2 separate regions of the Homo sapiens genome follow, and region 2 is linked to region 1. The links are contacts of gene promoters, found by promoter capture Hi-C in human tissues and cell types (Jung and others, 2019). All regions are on one chromosome and are shown on one strand. The core of a region is centred on a gene start or on the middle of the fragment in contact, and the rest is flanking DNA. Distances in the headings are between cores, read along the strand shown. Region 1 holds the start of TNFSF9 (TNF superfamily member 9). Region 2 holds the start of MBD3L3 (methyl-CpG binding domain protein 3 like 3).

Region 1 (4,419 bases), core at 778-3,277:
CAGGTGGGCCCAGATGGGGGTCTGATGGGGAGGCCATGGCATCCAGAGAGTCAGAGCAAGTCAGAAAGAGGGATCGGTGGCGTTCAAAGAGGGGAAGTAGCAGCTTTCAGAGACAGCAGCGGTCAAGGGTCAAAGCCAGTGTGCGGCAGAGCCTCACTCTCCAGGTTCCCCCTTCTTCGTATCCCGGGGTGGGGATGGTGGGGGGCCAGGGACCGGAAGTGGCGGAGGATACTTACCATTTTGGGCCACCAGCTGCGCAAACATGCCCTGTTAAAAGTAGAAAGGAGGAAAGTGGATGGGGGTTCCCCTAGAAAATGGAGGTTCTGTCCCCACTCACTTCAGCTGTCAGGGTCCCCAGAGTCTGTGCCGACCTGAAGCCTACGCTTCCCTTCCCTCCCAACTAAAGAACAGAGACCGCACACACACACACACAAACACACAAACACACGAACACAAACACAAACGAACACACACACGAACACCCACATTAACACACAGACACACGAACAAACACGAACACACACACGAACGCAAACACAAACACACACAAACACCCACACGAACACACACAGACACACACGAACACAAATATCCAAACACACCCACATGAACACAAACACCCACACGAACGAACAAACACAAACACCCACACGAACACACACCCACACGAACACAAACACACCCACGAACACACACACATACGCACCCCCACACGAACACACACACACGAACACAAACACCCACACAAACACGAACACACACACACACACACACACACACACACACGAAGCTGGTGGCTCAACCTGCCCCAAGGACAGATCTCCAAGAATTCAGGAGGGAAAAGCGATCCCTCTTCTTTCCAGCCCCCTTGGGGGTATTCCCCTGGGGGTCTTGAAAGGGAGAGGGGTACCTCAGATGTTGGGGATAAGGCTCTTTGGGAGTTAGCAAAGGAACTGGGGGTCTCCTTGGCGGTCCCAGATAAAGAGGAAGTGCCCCCCTCGGATCGGGGATGGAAAAAAGGTTCCCCCCAGAGATGCAGAGCTTGTGGGGGTGCGGGGTAAAAAGAGGTGCCCTCAATGTCCTAAGTCCTACATAGAGAAAGGAAGCCGTCGAGGGTTGGAGAACCGCGGAGGGTCCCCCGTCCAGGGTGCAGATGGGGTGCCTTGGGAATGCGGAATGAAGAGGGGTGCCCCCACCCACTGCCACATGGAGGGAAGCCAGCCTTTCTCCGACCCGGGGTGCAGAAGACGTATCCCTGAGGGGTTGAGGACTGTGGGGGTCTCCTCCTCCTGGCCTGGGGTGCTGATGGGGTCTCGGGATGCGGAATGAAAGGGGTGCCCTCCCGTGCAAGACGGAGAAGGAGAGCCCTTGGAGGTCCAAAAAGAACTTGTGGGGGTCTCCTCTCCCCCTCCCGGGATACAGATAGGGTCTCGTAGCGGGCGCAGGATGAAAGGGGTGCCCCCCGGACTAGAAGAAGGAGACCCTTGGGGGGTCCAAAAAGAACTGTTGGGCGGTCTCCTCCCCGCCCCCGGCCTGGGGTACAGATGAGGTGTCGTAGGGGTGCGGGATGAAAGGTGTGCCCCCCCGGCCTCGGTGCTAGATGGAGAATGGGAGCCCCGGTGGGTCTCCTCTCCCCGGCCGGGAGTGTAGAACAGGTGTCCCTGGGGGTGCGGGAGGGAGAAGGGAGTCCCAGAGGGGCGGTAGGGGTCTCCCGCGAGACCAGCTACCGAGGGTCGGGGCACGTCTCACCTGCCGCAGGTCCAAGAGGCCGGCGGGATCGTCGGGCGAAAGCTCGGGACCCTCGCGGAGTCTCGGGCTGGCCGCGGAGCCGGGCGAGGCGCGAGCCCCGGACACGGCCCAGGGGCAGGCGAGGAAGACGGCGCAGGCGGCAGCGAGCAGCAGCAGCAGCAGCAGCCCCGCGACCAGGGCCCAAGGCAGTACGCGGCAGGCGCGAGCGCGGGGCGCGGGAGGCCACGGGGCTTCGGGGTCCAGTGAAGCGTCAGAGGCGTATTCCATGACGAGAGACTGCGGGAAGACACAGCGCGCCGCTTTTTATAGCTGCTTGGCTACAAAAGGAGGCCACGCCCCTCCGCCCGCGGCCACGCCCCTCCGCCCGCGGCCACGCCCCTTCCCAGCCCAGAGCCTTTCCCCTCGTCCCCGTGACTCTGCGGAATTTTCTCCACTCGGATCTCTCTCCGCTTTTCGCTCTCCTTTCCGTTTCCGGCCTTCCAAGCTCGGCTCCAGGTTCCTTTCTCCCTGCTGTCTCTCCATCGCCCTGGTTCTCCCTCTCTGCCGCTCTTTCCCGGTATCTCTGTGGGTCTCTTGCTGACTCAGTCTCCTTTGCTCTCTGTGTCTCCCCGTTAACGTCTTTCTCTGTCTCTGTTGATTGCCTCTGCAGTGGGTGGAAAGAGATCTTTCTCTCTCTCTGCCAATTTATGTCTATGCGTGCCTCTGTGCCTGTATTATCTCTGTCTCTGTCTCTCTCTATCTCTGTCTCTAATTCTCTCTCCCTGTCTCTGGCTCTGTTATCTCTGTCTCTGTATCTCTCTGTCTAACTCTGTCTCTGGCTGTTATCTCTGTCTCTCATTGTATCTCTCTCTGACTCTCTCTCCCTGTCTCTGGCTCTGTTATCACTGGCTCTGTCTCTCTATCTGTCTTCTCTCTCTCTGCCTCTGACTCTCTCTCCCCATGTCTGGCTCTGTTATCTCTGTCTATATATCTCTCTCTGTCTCTGACTCTCTCTCCCTATCTCTGGCTCCGTTATCTCTGTCTCTGTATCTGTCTCTGGCTCTGTTATCTCTGTCTCTCTATCTCTGTCTCTGACTGTCTCTGGCTCTGTTATCTTTCTCCCTCTCTCTGCTTCTGTTATCTCTGTCGCTGTCTCTGGCTGTGACTCTCTCTCTCTGTCTCTGTGTCTGGCTCTCTCTGTCTCTGTCTCTGACTCTGTCTCTGGCTCTGTTATCTCTGTCTCTATGTCTCTGTCTCTGTGTCTCTCTCCCTGTCTCTGGCTCTTTTATCTATGTCTGTCTGTCTCTTTCTCTCTGTCTCTGACTCTCCCTATCTCTGGCTCTGTTATCTCTGTGTCTGTCTCTCTGTCTCTGACACTCTCTCCCTGTCTCTGGCTCTGCTATCTCTGTCTCTGTATCTCTCTTTGTCTCTGCCTCTCCCTGTCTCTGGCTCTTTTATCTATGTCTGTCTTGTGTCTCTTTCTCTCTGTCTCTGACTCTCCCTATCTCTGGCTCTGTTATCTCTGTGTCTGTCTCTGTCTCTGACACTCTCTCCCTGTCTCTGGCTCTGTTATCTCTGTCTCTGTCTCTCTGTCTCTGGCTCTGTTATCTCTGTCTCTGTATCTCTCTTTGTCTCTGCCTCTCCCTGTCTCTGGCTCTTTTATCTGTGTCAGTCTGTGTGTTTCTTTCTCTCTGTCTCTGACTCTCCCTATCTCTGGCTCCGTTATCTCTGTCTCTCTCCATCTCTGACTCCCTCTCTTTATGCATCTCTGTGTCTCTCCCTGTCTCTGTATGTCTCTGGCTCTCACTCTTTCTGTCTCTCTCCCTGTTTCTCTCTGTCTCTGATTCCCTCTGTCTCTCTCTGACTCTCTGTCTCTCCCTGTCTCTCTCCTTTTCCTTCTTTAGTCTCTCTTTGTCTCCTTCCCCTCCTCTCAGCACCCCCTAGCCCCCCATCACTAGGACTCCCCCGGGTTCCCCCACATCCAGCACTTCCTAAGAAGGGTCAGGCTTCAGCCAAGCCTCAACCACCCTCACTCCTGGAGCATCTGCCCCCTGATCCCCAACCCCCCAGTGGAACCCTGAGTGTCATGCTCAGCCCTCCTGGCCACCTTCCCCGGGACCCCTGGGCCTTCCCTGGCCTGCCCCCACCCACCCACTGGATGGTTCCCGGCAGGAGCCCCTCGGGACCCTACAAGCAGAAGCTCGGAGAGTCCAGGTGGAGAAATTCCCCTTGCAAGAAAGGGACAGTGTTGAGCGAGTTGGAGGAAACACATTTCCCATCTGCTCTGGCCTGCTGGAGGCGGCCAATCCGGGGCTGGGAGGATGGGCCAAGAAGCGGTGAAAACTTGGCCCCAAAAGAGGAAGCACTCCCAGATGGAGAGGGACGTGACCCGGGGAAAGCCCTTGGCTGGTGTTGAAGTCCTGGTCTGCCCAGACCAGTGTGGGTCCACAATGGCCAACTCCCTTCCCATCTCCCAGCCCCATGGGAGATGGGAGGGTAGACCACGCCTTTCATCCCTCTGCTAGCAGAAGTCAACAGCCCATAAAATAAAGGGACTTTTGTTTTGCTTTCAGATACAAGGTCTTGCTCTGTCGCCCAAGCTGGAGTGCAGTGGCACGATCATAGCCCACTGCAGCCTCCAATCCTGGGTTCAAGCCATCCTCCTGTCTTAGACTCCTGAATAGCTGGAAC
Region 2 (4,205 bases), core at 1,536-4,035, 530 kb before region 1:
ATACAAAAATTAGCTGGACGTGGTGGTGGGAGCCTGTAATCCCACCTACTCAGGAGGCTGAGGCAGGAGACTCGCTTGAACCCAGAAGGCAGAGTTGCGGCGAGCCAAGATCGTGCCACTGCACTCCAGCCTGGGTGACAGAACAAGACTCCACCTGAAAATTTATAATAATAATAATGATAATAATAATTTTTTACGGTCACTTGTTTATATTCTTTTGTGTAGGATCCATTCAAGTTTTTCACCCAGTTTCAAGTGTGTTTTCATTATTTTTCTCTGTTTGTTTGACATTATTCTCTTTTTTTTAAATATTAAGATTTTTTTTATATATATACTCTGGCTTGATGTACTTTCCTGGGGGTACAGGATCCAAACCTCTTCCCCCACTCCGGTTTTCCACGCTTTCTCTCTTACTGATGTATTTGAATGAATAGTTGCTCTTAATGTATCTTAATATGGTTCAAATTTGAATTTTCTCCTTTCTATTTAGAGTTTCATTGTATCAAGAAGGCAGATTATCTCCTCATTGACTGTGAAGCTGTTCTTCTACCTAGTTTTTAATTAAAGCTATTTACTGTGTTTTATGCTTAGAACTGAAACTAAGAGTATAAGAAATTAGGCCAGGCACGGTGGCTCACGCCTGTAATCCTAGCACTTTGAGAGGCCAAGGCAGGTGAATCACTTGAGGTCAGTAGTTCGAGACCACCCTGGCCAACATGGTGAAACCCCGTCTCGACAAAAAATACAAAAATAAGCTGGGTGTGGTGGCATGTGCCTGTAGTCCCAGCTACTTGGGAGGCTGAAGCAGGAGAATCATTGAACCCGGGAGGCAGAGGTTGCAGTGAGCTGAGATCCCGCCACTGCTCTCCAGCCTGGGTGACAGAGTGAGACCCCATCTCGAAAGAAAAGAGAGAAAAGAAAGGAAGACAGGAAGGAAGGAAGACAGGAAGGAAGGAAGGAAGGAAGGAAGGAAGGAAGGAAGGAAGGAAAATTAAAATGAGACTGAACCTAGAAAAAAGGTAGATTAGCAAAGTGGAACAAGGTTCAAGAGCAAATATTCCCACCAAAGCATGAACAACATTGGAAACTTCAGAGACAAGTGGGATGTGATTAAAAGAAGAGTAGAGAGAACTTGGACAAGAATGGATATCAGAAGTGAAGGATACATATGCACCTTCCAAACCAATGAAAGACATCAACCCACAGATGCAATTGACTCCACACCCTCTAGGCAAAGGAAATACACAGGAAGCAATAATGAGCTACACTGTGGCCTACAAACCAACCACAACGAGAAAGAGTTTAGAGAATGTGGAAACCAAAGAAGCAAGGAAAAGCCTGACAGCTGACATCTCAACACAGGTAAAATGAGATAGACATCAGTGGGGCACCATTTCTAATATGCTGAAAGAAATTTGTCAAACCAGACACCCGTACCTGACAGCAATATTGCCCCCAAATAAAGATGCCTAAATAAAAGTGTAAAGGAAAACAATTAGTTGTTAGCAGCATTGAATTAGAAGAAAAATACTAGAATGAATTCTCAAGTCCACAGGGAAATAATCCCAGATTGAATGCTAGAAATGCAGAAAGGAACAAAGATGAATGCACAAGATAAGCTGTAGGTAAATATTAGTGCATATTGCTTTATGAAGCAATACTAGAAATGTCTCCTGGAGAGTAAAATATGTGTAGAATTAATATGCATGAGAATGGTAATACAAAAGTCAGAAACAGCTAAAAAGAGAATTAAAAGTGTTCTAAAGTATTAGCATTTTGTGGGAGGGGTTAAAGTAATTAATTGTATCAGAGTATATGATTTAATTATTAGCATAACTACACAGATTTGTATGGCTGTAACTAGCAAGTTCATGGAGATAACAATAAAATAATAAACATATTTAATTCAAAGTCAGTCAAGTAAAGGCAAAAGGAACGTGAGTCAGTTAAGTCAAAACCTAGGAAAAATGAGATGATTGAAACAATTTCAAATTTACTGGTAATTATATTAAATGTAAATGCACGAAATAGAACTTTTTTTTTTTTTTTTTTTTGAGATGGAGTCTCACTCTGTCGCCCATGCTGAGCTGCAGTGGTGCGATCTCGGCTCACCGCAACCTCTCCCTCCCAGGTTCAAGCGATTCTCCTGCCTCAGCCTCCCGAGTAGCTGGGATTACAGGTGCATGCCACCACACCAGGGTAAGTTTTGTATTTTTAGTAGAAATGGGGTTTCACCATGTTGGCCAGGCTGGTCTCGAACTCTTGACCTCAGGTGATCTACCTGCCTTGGTCTCCCAAAGTGCTGGGATTATAGGCGTAAGCCACCTCTCCCGGCCAAAGTAGTAATTTCTTTGCAACAACTGTGTGATATATTCTATAGGATTGTGAATAAAAGTTTTGGGCTTTCTTTTCTTAAAGAACATTTAAATGGTCTTTAGTTGTTGTTATTAAATCAAATATTACGTGAACATTTATGTACATAGACAATTCCATTCCTATTTCTATAGAAAGTATTCAAAGATGTTTGGAAAACTGGGAGAAAAAGGGAAACATATCTAAAATGCTGATATTAACTGTAAATACCACCCCGCCACACACACATACACACGTATTCAATTCTTTCTCTACTAACACTCTGTGTAGGTAACACCACATTGGTTTCTGTATAAAGATTTAGAAATGCCTCAAATCCAATGGGCGGAGACAGGGTGTTCCCTGTGGATTATCCACTGATTGCATTATCACTCGCTTTCTCTATAAAAAGGGGAACCAGATGCAGAAGTCACTGCATTTTCCGGCAAGCCAAGGGTTGTCTGCATCTCAAGAGTGGGGTCAGCAAGAGAAACTCTACGGCTATGGGAGAGCCTGCGTTCACCTCTTTTCCGAGCCCACCTGTTCTGGTGAGTACGGGATATTTATTGATTACAGGAATGTCCATATGTGTCCTTTTTCCTTCTGTAAGACAGCTTTACAGTTAGCAGTGGGTTGTTCTTAAAACTGGATGTTGTGGAAAGTTATACCTCAGGTGGTAATATCTGTTGAATAATGTTCAAAGTATTCTCATTTTTGCCCATGAAACTGTATGGGGATAATAGCTTTGAATTTTTTTTTAAAAATCCAACATCACTAGGAAAGGGAAGAAGTATGATTTGGCCTTGCAGTCTTCAAATTGTCTCCTTCTCTGGAAAGCTCCTGAACCAGAAATTGCTTGGTCCGTTTTTTTAAAAAAACAAAAAACAAAAAAAATTAGTTCTCTGGTAAAATTTCATGATGAGTTGCTTATTCCCTAAACTCACTGTCACGATTCATTGTAGTGAATTTCTTTTCTGTTTCTCTGTTTCTCCTCCTTCCATCCCTCTCTGTCACTCCCTTCTTCTTCATCATGGAACTTACTTATATCTGATATTCCACCAGAAATTTGTTTTTAGTGCGTTTATTATGTCTTCCTTCTCACCAAGATGAAAATCAACAGAGTGGTGATTTATGAAGTTTACTTCTGGATCAGGGGTTCTACTGCACAGCTTGGCACATCATAAGTGCCCCGTAACTAAGGGGACTAAATAATTTTCCCTCCAAAGGGGAACATCTTGGGTCAGTATTAATCTTTATGCCAGGGGTACTGTAAGGGGTAGTATTAATCTTTATGCCAGGACAACGAAAAATGAAATGAGGAGGACAGAAACAAAGGCTTTAAAATGGAAAGTGCACTGATGAGGTTTGTGGGGGAAACAGCTTTATGAGACTAGAGTCTTCCAATTGAGTTAGAGCAAGAAAGGACGTCAAATCTTAGGAGGCGCTTGATCATCTTTCTCAGTATGTCATCAAAAGATTCTCTCATGGTATACCTCTAGTTAATTGAGCTTATTAGAAACAGAAAGCAACATGGTGTTTCTGAGGTTTTTCTTCATGAGCAGGAGGTGTTCAGGTGAAGGTGGGATCTGGGTGTGGCAGTGAGTATTTAAGGTGGCGAGTGCAGGATTTCTTTGGAAACCAGAGAGTCAAGGAGCTATGAAAATGACGTTGTGTCCTGAAGCACAGCAGAAAGAGATACAGAGAAGCGTGAGGTCTTGGTGAACAGGGAAGTCTGGGATCCCGGTGTCCTGTTGGGGATGGGTTAGGAGGCACCACCAGCATCTGTGTAGCTGACAGTGGCAGGGAAGAGAAGAGAGGGGTGTCCTCTGAGGAGGATGAGGAGGGACAAGGTC

What was found. Contacts are between HindIII fragments. The study calls those that stand out against the background at their distance.
Region 2: a contact is called between the fragment with the promoter of MBD3L3 here and the fragment with the promoter of TNFSF9 in region 1, in 1 of the 25 tissues and cell types used here (heart left ventricle).

The regions. Positions count from the first base shown.
Region 1 is chr19:6,528,634-6,533,052 of GRCh38, reverse strand. It overlaps TNFSF9 (TNF superfamily member 9), which reads right to left and starts at 2,027. Exons shown (of 3, transcript NM_003811.4): 1 at 1,750-2,027; 2 at 237-267. The coding sequence starts at 2,016. RefSeq lists enhancers at 1-147, 148-648, 1,250-1,349, 4,120-4,379 and silencers at 1,760-1,829, 1,970-2,199. The HindIII fragment of the contact is 13,420 bases long and covers 1-2,280 here.
Region 2 is chr19:7,057,256-7,061,460 of GRCh38, reverse strand. It overlaps MBD3L3 (methyl-CpG binding domain protein 3 like 3), which reads left to right and starts at 2,785. Exons shown (of 2, transcript NM_001164425.4): 1 at 2,785-2,900. The coding sequence starts at 2,856. The HindIII fragment of the contact is 21,543 bases long and covers 1-4,205 here.